Linked DNA regions of Homo sapiens: all the other regions are linked to region 2. The links are contacts of gene promoters, found by promoter capture Hi-C in human tissues and cell types (Jung and others, 2019). All regions are on one chromosome and are shown on one strand. Each heading gives the region's core, a stretch centred on a gene start or on the middle of the fragment in contact. The rest is flanking DNA. Distances are from core to core; before and after follow the strand shown.

The links. Contacts are between HindIII fragments. The study calls those that stand out against the background at their distance.
Region 1: a contact is called between the fragment with the promoter of SEC14L5 here and the fragment with the promoter of ZSCAN10 in region 2, in 1 of the 25 tissues and cell types used here (psoas muscle).
Region 3: a contact is called between a fragment that was not itself captured here and the fragment with the promoter of ZSCAN10 in region 2, in 1 of the 25 tissues and cell types used here (dorsolateral prefrontal cortex).

The regions. Positions count from the first base shown.
Region 1 is chr16:4,956,177-4,959,706 of GRCh38, forward strand. SEC14L5 (SEC14 like lipid binding 5) reads left to right here and starts at 2,154. Exons shown (of 16, transcript NM_014692.2): 1 at 2,154-2,269; 2 at 3,097-3,210. The coding sequence starts at 3,148. RefSeq lists silencers at 2,039-2,248, 2,047-2,342 and an enhancer at 2,146-2,681. The HindIII fragment of the contact is 18,853 bases long and covers 1-3,530 here.
Region 2 is chr16:3,098,011-3,101,207 of GRCh38, forward strand. ZSCAN10 (zinc finger and SCAN domain containing 10) reads right to left here and starts at 1,284. Exons shown (of 6, transcript NM_032805.3): 1 at 1,180-1,284. RefSeq lists an enhancer at 2,037-2,086 and a silencer at 2,247-2,306. The HindIII fragment of the contact is 18,144 bases long and covers 1-3,197 here.
Region 3 is chr16:4,108,110-4,111,387 of GRCh38, forward strand. All of the region lies in intron 2 of ADCY9 (adenylate cyclase 9), which reads right to left. Among named protein-coding and RNA genes, the nearest start is that of ADCY9, 6.7 kb to the right of the region's middle. RefSeq lists an enhancer at 333-832. The HindIII fragment of the contact is 6,430 bases long and covers 1-3,278 here.

The DNA.
Region 1 (3,530 bases), core at 904-3,403, 1.9 Mb after region 2:
AGCTAACGGTGTTAACGTTCACTTTGCTCTGTGGCGATGCCTGGGCAGAGCTGGGCATTTCCTGGATGAGCCCGGGTTAGGACAGTCATCCCTGGATCCCATGTCCCCCACCTACTCACCCTTGTGTTACTCCAGGAGCCATGGGCTATCATTTGCTGCCACCTTGCGACAGGGATGGGAACTTTGTGTCCCATTTCCGCCCTTGATTACCTAAGCCAAGAGTCTGCTGGGCACCTGCTGCCTGCCTGCCAGGTCCCCAGTAAGATCCTTCCCAACATGCGGGCAGCTGAATAAGGCAGCCACTGCCCCTGCCCTCAGGGAGCTCACAGTCTCCTGAGAGAGACCTCCAGGAACCCACAGATATATAAAACGAATAAATGCAATATTAGAATGTGATGCAGGCTAGGAAGGGAAGAGAGGTGATTTTCACAGGGTGCAGTGACATACTTGAAATATATCAGGGGTTGTCCATCTCCCTGGCCACCTCTGACTTCCCCTGCTTGAAGGGGTGAATTCACCCCACGGTGGCACGTAGTAGGTGCTCAGTAAATGTTGAATGAGTGAATACATGGATGACAGCACTGTCCAGAGCCAATTTCTTGGGTCTTGTAGGCTAAACAGATGAGGAGTGGCAAGGCAGGACTTCTGGGAGCAAGGTTGGTCCCCTGGGAGTCCTGGGAGGGCTGAAAGGGGTTAAGTGTGAGTTAAAATGAGAGTGATGGACAAATGTCACTCTCCCAAGGGAGGCCCCCTTACTCCCTGTTTTATTTATTTATTTACTTATTTATTTTGAGACCGAGTCTTGCTTTGTTGCCCAGGCTGGAGTGCAGTGGCCAGGTAACAGCTCACTGCAGCTTTGAACTTCTGGGCTCAAGGGATCCTCCTGCCTCAGCCTCTTGAGTAGCTGGGACCACAGGCACGTGCCAACACGCCTGGCTAATTTTTTTTTTTTTTTTTTGCGACGGAGCTTTGTTCTTCTTGCCCAGGCTGGAGTGCAGTGGCGCAGTCTCGGCTCACTGCAACCTCCGCCTCCTTGATTCAAGCGATTCTCCTGCCTCAGCCTCCCGAGTAGCTGAGATTACAGGTATACGCCACCATGCCCGGCTAATTTTGTATTTTAGTAGAGACGGGGTTTCCTCATATTGGCCATGCTGTTCTCGAACTCCTGACCTCAGCTGATCTGCCTGCCTTGGCCTCTCAGTGTGCTGGGATTACAGGCGTGAGCCACCGCGCCCTGCCTAAACTAAAAAAAAATTTTTTTGTAGAGATAGGTTCTTGCTATGTTACCCAGGGTGGTCTCCAACTCCTGGGTTCAAGCGGTCCTCCCGCTTCCGCCTCCTAAAGTGTTTGGATTACAGGCGTGAGACATGGCGCCCGGCCTCTTACCTGTTTTAAATTGTCCTTTCTCTCCGCTGGCTCCTTGAGCCCCTTTCCTGCTTATTTTTCTCTCGTTAGAGTTTTTCACTACCTCACACATCATATATTTGCCTTATTTATTGAGTGTCTGTCTCCCCACCGTAGTATAAACTCCACGAGGGCAGGGATTCGTGCGTGTGGCTCACCGGCGGCTCTCCAGCGCCTGGACAGGGCTGACCCCCAGCAGGCGCTCTGTGAAGGTGTGCAGAGTGGGCGAAGGTGCATGCGCGGGCCGTGGGGCGGGGACAGGTGGAGGAGCCAGTCAGACCCAAGTGCAGCGGGACGAGGGCGAGGTTAATCTGAGCAAGAAAAGCGTAAATTCTGCTTATCTACAAATGTAAACAGTACTGTCGGCCAGACGCAGGGTCCGGGGCGGGTCGGCCCGGACTCAGGGTCTGCTTGGAGGCAGAGCTAGATTAGGGCGGGGTCGTCCTGTGGCCTACCATTCCCCGAGGCTGAGGGCCTTGGAGGGCGGGGCCAGTGAAGGGGGAGGGGACTTCCTGAGGTGTGACCAATCTAGAGAAAGGACTGGGCTGAGGGCGTGGTCAAACAAGCGACATCTAAAAATAAGGGGCGGGGCTAGAACCAGGGGGAGTTCGCCTGGGGCGGGGCCAGAGTGGGGCGGGACCAGTTAGGGGGCAGGGCCAACCTGGGCGGGGCCATGGCCGGGGACGTGGGCGGGACCAGGTCAGGGGCGGGGCCAGGCCAGGATCTCCGCTGTCCCGGGTCCTGGAGCTCTCTCGGCCCGGCAGGTTTCGCTCCCGCCCCTCCGGCCTTCCACAGCTGTCCTGGCCGCAGGGTGTTCAAGGCGGGACACACCAGGCTAGAGATCCGCGATCGGGCCCCGCCTCAGGTACTGCGCTCCAGGCCAGGCGGGCGCGGGTAAGCGCTCAGCTCCCGAGCCAGGCGGGCTTCCAGGGCACTTCCCCTAGGCTGCATTCCCAAAGGCTCCCGAGGGCGAGGGTGAGCAAAGCTGCGGGGACCTGTGTGTGCATGCGTGTGCGATTGCCTCTACGTGTGTGTACGTGTGTGTGCATGTGCGCACGGGTGTGTGTGCGTGTGTGCACGTCTGTGCACACCAGGGGAATTGCGTGCGTGGAGCTGGGCAGGTGCGTGTTTCAGGGTGTGTGTGCAAAGTTGGAGGCGTGTGCAAAAGCAGTCCCGTGTGGGAGGGAAACCTGCGTGTGTACATGTGTGTGATAGAGACAGTGCCTGTGAAATGTGGTGAAGGCTGTGTGTGTATGTCAGGGTGTCTGGGAGGAAAATGGGAGGGCAGGTGCAAGGAGACTCGGGGGTGGGCTGTAGGCCAGCAAGTCTGTGGCAAGCTGCGGGGTGCATGCGTGAATAGAACCGTGGGAGTGTAAGAATTGCAAATGTGTGTGTGTCTGTGTGGGTGGCCGTAAGGCTTCTGGGGGCCCTCAGTGTGAAGGGGTGGGGGTAGAGGAAAGTTTGGGGGTGCTGACTGCTCTTGGAAGGCTGAGCGTGGTCTGGGGCCATGGCTAATGACAGGGAAGCTGTTGGGGCTTGGCCTGGAGTAATTTGGGGGGAATATCAGCCTTCTCAATTTGAAGGCTGGGGAGCTGTGTGGGTGGGGCCAGGGGCTGCCCCTTACACTTGGTGGGTGGTGTCCCTGCTTCCCGAGGTGGGAGCTGCAACCTCACCAGTCACTCCTCGCCCCAGGCTCTGTGCACACCCCTGCCTGGTGACCTCCATTGGTGCTCCAGCGTGAACATGGTGCAAAGATACCAGTCTCCTGTCCGAGTCTACAAGTACCCGTTTGAGCTGGTCATGGCGGTGAGTGACTCCTGATTCTTGGGCCCCCATGTGACAGTTGGAGGGGCTTGAGATCAGCTATGGCGGTAGGAAGACGGAGCTCCTTAGACTCCCAGATCAGAAGGAATTAGTGAGTTACTCAGCTGACCTGGTGGGTTTAACTTCTATCCAGTGACCTCTCTGTCCAACCATCCTATCCTCGGCCCAGTGACCAAAACACAAAGTCTTTCTTCCTTCTCCTTGTTGAAGCTGACCTGCTCCCTTACTTTAGACTCTCCTGATAGAAAACAAAGGTATCAGGGGCCAAGCCACTGCTGTCATTTCATATAATGGCATATCAC
Region 2 (3,197 bases), core at 34-2,533:
CCAGCCTGGATAAAAGGCGAAGACCCTGTCTCAAAAAAAAAAAAAAAAAAAAGAAAGAAAGAAAGAAAAGAAAAGAAAAGAAAAAAAAAGAGTGGGGGAGGGGGAAGAAAATGGGATTACGTTTCACTGGTTTTTAGTAGCATGCACAAAATAACAAGAAAACTAATCACTGCTCATCCATTGCCGTGCAGGAGCAGCGGGCAGGTACTGAGTGTCTGGCGATTAAGCTCATTTCATCCCAGTCCAGCCCACGCACGAAACAATCACTTCTCCCTTTGCCAAGTGCAAAGACCAAGCTTTGCACTTGGTGACATGCTCAGGGTCACACCAGGTGGAGCCAAGGTTTGCTTTAGGCTGAGAGTGTAGGTCTAGAACACAGTGCCAAAGCTCTGAAACAGAAAAGGAACTGATCTCCATCCTGCTCTGTGCCATTTTCCTAGCCTTAGCCGAAATATCACAGCATGAAACAGAAAAAAAATGAAGATTCCAAATTTCAGCTCTCAGGGCAAGCCACACAGGGAGGCCGGAATCTCCAGGTGAGATCTCTCCAAAAGGTTTCAAAGAGGTGGAATTCGAGACAAGTTGGCTTCAGAGAATCTCTCCCTCCCCCCAGATCTCCAGGACAAAAGCTCTGTTAATATGCACCTCTGTTGGGGGTGGGCTGGGTAGGGAGGCAGGCAGAGGCTCTACAGCCACCATCCAACATTTGAGCAGCTTAATTTGGAGCCCGGGGTGGAGGTGCTGCCACGAGACCCACCCAGGTCACCTGAGAGCCCAGAGTTGGGGAAGGCGGCAAAGGTGGGGTCCTCAGCCGGGAACACTCCCTTTCTCCCTGGACACAGTTGGCAGCTGCCTGATTTGTTGTTTGTTGGAGGGGCCTCCCTCCGCGTGCTGGGCTGAGTGGACAAGGCCCATCAGTCCACCTGGGAGCACGTGAAGCCAGCCTTCTTCAATGTCACAGGAAGTTCTGCGATCTCCCTCGTCCCCAACGCCCCCATCGCGACAGGTCCACCAAGCTGGCTGGCACGAGGCTCCCCAGCAGACCCTCTACATCCTCCCAAGACTCTTCCAGCCCCCACCCCAGCACCAAGGCCTGGAGCCTCCCCTGCTCTCTCCAAGCTGCTGCGAGCTCCTAGCACCCGTCCTGGCAGCCTGCACCCCGACCTCCCTCCAACTCACCACTCGGAGTCCCCACTACACAGGCAGAGATGCTGGGGGGTTTTCTGAGGACTCCAGGGCCAAAGCCAGCCTCCGCCAGCCTGGGGAAGGGCTCTGGGAAAATGGAACAGGAAGTTCCTTGCCCCAGTCCCATCCCATCCAGGTGATGAGGGGCTTCCTAGAGTTAACCCTTAAGCTCCCAGTTTGGGAGCGGGATGGGAAGAGGGCGGGGCCAGTGACATGAAGACAAAGTGAGAAATCCAGATTTCAATCCCAGCCTGTGTGAGAGTGTAACCACCTCCCAAATCAAGACTGGCCTGGTGCCCCTTGCAGGTCTGCCCGTCTTTCCTTTGGGCTAAGAGCTGCCATTTTTAAATGCCCACAGTGTGCTGGCTTCTTTGCTAGGCTTTTCATTCACGTGACTACTCTTTGCAATGGCCTCCTGTGTGCCAGGCACTGTTACAAAGCAGGGGCTAAGGACACAGAGAGAAACTGAAGGAATGAGGCCCTGCTCTCAGGGGCTTACATTCTAGGGCAAAGGAGCAGCGACGGTGCTAGGAAAAAATGGAAGAGGAGGATGTGATGGGGCAGAGTTTGCTCCATCTACACGGTCACCTAAAGTCCTCCCAAGTCCTGCCAGGTGGCTTTTGTCCCAACTTTACCGATGACGAAGCAAGGGCTCCCCGGGAGGGAAGTGACCTAACCAACAGCGTTTGGCCCCAAACTAATTCCATCCCTGTGCTTAAGGTGCCTTCTTGGGTTGTGCCCTTGGCTGCAGCTGGTGCCTTCCTGAGCGTTCTGAGCCCCCGGGGAGCCAGGACCACCTCTCAGGTGTTGGCCGTTCCCCCGGCCTAGACCCCTCGGTCCGTTGGGGCCAGGACCCTCCTGACTGGCTCATCTGACGGGTCTTTGTTTTCCTGCACTTAACACCTGAGCTCATCCTGTTCCTACTTCAGTTGTCTAGTGCTCCCTTCGTACGACGGTCTTTCTCCTTGGTCTGCTCTGCATTCCCCGCGTCCCGCGCCTCGCTCTCCCAGTCGCGGGCTCCTCCCACTCCATAGTTTGTTCAGGGGCGGGGCCAGAAAACCCCGCCCCCAGGGAAGTGGGCCTGAAGGCCAAGGGGCGGGGCGGGGTTCTGTAGGGACGGAGGGGGCGTGTCCGGGGCGGGGCGGGGTGCTGTAGCGCCGGAGCGGGTGTGGCCTTGGCGGGACCAGGCAGCCATTACAGTCTCGGAAGCGAGAGGCGTGGGGCCTGTCTCATCATGCCCGGTTCATTTTTTTTTTTTTTTTTTTTTTTGTAGAGATGGGGTTTCATCATTTTGGCCAGGCTAGTCTTGAACTCCTGAACTCAGGTGATCCACCTGCCTTGGCCTCCCAAAGTGCTGGGATTACAGGCATGAGCCACCGCACTCAGCCTCTTTAATCACCTGAGGTCAGGAGTTCAAGACTAGCCTGGACAACATGGTGAAACCCCATCTCTACTAAAAATTTTTGTTTCTTTTAAAATTGTAATTTTCCCAATTCCACTTATTTTATTTTATTAGAGACAAGGTCTTGCCATATCTCCCAGGCTGGACTCAAACTCCTGGGTTAAAGTGATCCTCCCATCTCGGTCTACCAAGGAGCTGGGACTACAGCTGGGACTCCATGCCATCGAGCGTTCTTTCCCTCTCGTTGCTGAATGATTTTCCTCATTACATCAGTTATTCATTCTGCTATGGGTAGCCCGTGGGCAGTTTTCAGTTTGGGGCTATCTCTAGTGGTTCTCATATGTCTCTGGTGACCATATATGGGACAGCAGTCTGAAGTAGGTGAAGAGCAGAGTGAGAGGTTAGGTTTATCTTTGGGAGGTAAGGACTGCACGTGTGTACTCCGAGGTCTGAGGCCACCGAGGAAGCCTCAGGGACTGGCCTCCGTGTAGAGCTGCTCTCACTGCCCTGGGCATTGGGGACAAGGCCAGGACAAGCAGGACCCCGTGCGTGTTTCCTCGAATGGCTTATGGTCGCTTCAGAAAGACACTGGGTGTTTGTTGGCGTTCGG
Region 3 (3,278 bases), core at 12-2,511, 1.0 Mb after region 2:
GCATCTTCATTCTGTCTTCCTAATATTTACACGGGAAAAGAAGATGCCTGTAGATATTTTCTAACAGTTTCATTTTCTGTCTTTGTGACCCTGTATCTATGACAGGAAAAGCCAACAGCTCGAGATAACACGTCTCACCATTTTTTGCTTGTGGCCCAAGGCAGAATACAACAGCCACGGTTCCCTCAGGCCTAGCGGTTTCATCCCAAATGCTGTGGAAGGTCCCTCACCTTAATCAGACCGTTTCTTCATTTTTTTTTTTTTTTTTTTTTTTTTTTTTTGGCGACAAAGTCTCGCCCTATCGCCCAGGCTGGAGTGCAATGGCACGATCTCGGCTCACTGCAAACTCCACCTCCTGGGTTCGAACGATTCTCCTGCCTCAGCTTCCCAAGTGGCTGGGACTAAAGGCGCCTGCGACCACACCCAGCCAATTTTTGCATTTTCAGTAGAGACAGGGTTTCACCATGTTGGTCAGGCTGGTCTCAAACTCCTGACCTCCTGATCTGCCCACCTCGGTCTCCCAAAGTGCTGGGATTACAGGCATGAGCCACCACGCCCGGCCCATTTCTCCATATCTTTAATAACTGTCCCTCACACTTTTTTTTTTTTTTTTGAGACAGGGTCTCATTCTTGTCGCCCAGGCTGGAGTGCAATGGTGCAATCTTGGCTCACTGCAACCTCCGTCTCCCAGGTTCAAGCAATTCTCCTGCCTCAGCATCCCGAGTAGCTGGGATTACAGGTACCTGCCACCACACCTGGTTAATTTTTGTATTTTTAGTAAATATGGGGTTTCACCACGTTGGCCAGGCTGGTCTCAAACTCCTGACCTCAGGTGATCCGCCTACCTCGGCCTCCCAAAGTGTTGAGATTACAGGCATGAGCCACCATGCCTGGCCCCTCACTTTTTAGATTATTTCCAAAATCCTAGCAGTATGCTAAAAATTCCTGCAACCTTCTCCCAGTGACTGGCCACCCTAGATAAGATTTCTCACACTCGTACACCCCATCTGCTGTATCCCCTTCCTGCTTTATGTTTGTTCACAAAACACTTTTTCTATTTTACTTATTTATGGTTTGACTCCCCTGTTGTCCCCTCTATTAGATCTCCCCTATTTGAAGGCCTGGTTTTTGTTTCTTAGAGACAGGGTCTCACTCTGTCGCCCAGGCTGGAATGCAGTGGTGCAATCACGGCTCTCTGCAACCTCGACCTCGTGGGCTCCAGCGATCCTCCTATATTATTGACTTAAAAATTCTTGTCCCCTATTACAAGAGCAGGAATTGTTGTCTGTTTTGTTTACGGCTGTATTGCCAGAACCCAGAACCGTGCCTGGCACGGAGTAAATGATTTGCTGAATGAGTAAGCAAGCCAGGGGTTCCGGGCCTCTGTACTCTGCAAGTCCATCCTGCATTCTCCATTCATACCATAGCAACTTCAAAGGCCCCTCACCCATTCCTGACTCCACATTGTCGCCAAGTCACTTCCAGAAACTTAAAATGCCATTTCCCATTCACATGGTCAAGCCCTTCCCCTCCTGCCAGTCGTTTGTTTAAATCTGGCTTGCAGTCCCATCAAGCTGCTCTTCCTAATGCCACTCAGATCCCATCACCTCCATCACTGCTACTGTAACTTTGGATTGGGCCACCATCACCCCTACCTGGGATTTACTCGACACCTCATTAATCTCTTTCCAACCCACACTCACTAGCTCTGAAAGAGTGAACTTTCTAAAACTGCAAGTCAGATCACCTAAGCCCCCTGTTGAGTGGTTCCCTGACACCTATGGGGTCAAATGCAAACTCCTTCCCACGCTACCCATGGCCTTCCTTGTCCTGATGAACAACTAACAATCGTCCGCCCCCACAGAGAAGCACAGGGCCCAGCCATACCCACCTCTCCGCTCTGCCCTGGTGCTCTTCTGTCCACCTGGAGAGCCACAGCCTGATCTCAGGACCCAGCTCCAGCAGGAGCCCCCTCTAAAGCGCTCCCCACTCCCGAACATACTCCACAACATTTTTAACTGTGAGCTCACGGAGGTTGGGAACTATTAACGCAGGTCAGACGCGCCCCAAAGTGGGGCCGAGCCCAAGAGGGTTCTTGGCTTTGCCCAGGAAATAATTCAAGGGTGAGCCGGTGGCAGGAAAGAAAACACCTTTATTGAAGAGGCAGGCAGTGTTATACGGCTCCATGACTGCTCCTGCAGAGCTGGGCTTTCCCAAAGGCGGAAAGTAGCAGCTCAGGGCAGTTTTGCAATCATACTTATACCTACTTTTTTTTTTTTTTTTTTTTTTTTTTGAGACGCAGTCTCGCCTAGGCTGTCGCCCAGGCTGGAGTGCAGTGGACATGATCACAGCTCACTGCAACCTCCACCTCCTGGGTTCAAGCGATTCTTCTGCCTCAGCCTCCCGAGCACCTGGGATTACAGGCGCACACCACCACACCAGGCTAATTTTTGTATTTTTAGTAGAGACGGGGTTTCACTATATTGGCCACACTGGTCTCCAACTCATGACCACAGGTGATCCACCCGCCTTGGCCTCCCAAAGTGCTGGGATTACAGGCATGAGCCACTGCGCCCAGCCTTACCTTATACCTACTTTTAATTTCCTGTAGAGTAAAGGTAGGCTTAGGCAGACACTTCTAGGAAAAGGGTGGTGGCTTTTGGGTTGTCAGGTCACGGCCATGGAAAGAGGCAGTAACTCCGGGTGTGGCCATGGCGACAGTAAACTAACAAGGCACACTGGTGGGCGTGCCTTGCAGAACGCTGCTTCTGCCCCATCCCTGTATCAGCTAGTCCTCAATTCGGTCTGGCATCTGAACCCCGCCTCTGGAGTCGAGTCCCACCTCCTACCTCACGATCACGGATCCTGCTCCACGATCACGGATCCTGCTCCACATCCACAGTGCCAGGTGCACAGTCAGTGCCAGGGGCACGACACAGATTTCAGAGTGAAGGAATGTGCAGAAATCATGAAACTACCCTTCTGCAAAGCCTGTTCGGATAAATTTGAATGAGAGGAGCTTCCTTCTGTGCTCCCAGGCTAGTTCTAGAAGCCCCTTCTCATTCTATGGATGCCCATTCCTGCAGGGCCGCTACTGGCTGCTTTTTAACCCTGGGATCAGAAAAGGGGGTAAGAGGGAAAGGCTAATACACCCAGTATTGGGGTTTTTTTTGTTTTTGTTGTTGTTGTTTTTTAAGACAGAGTTGCTCTGTCGCCCAGGCTGGTGTGCAGTGGCGCAGCCTCGGCTCACTACAACCTTCTCTTCCCGGGTTCAAACA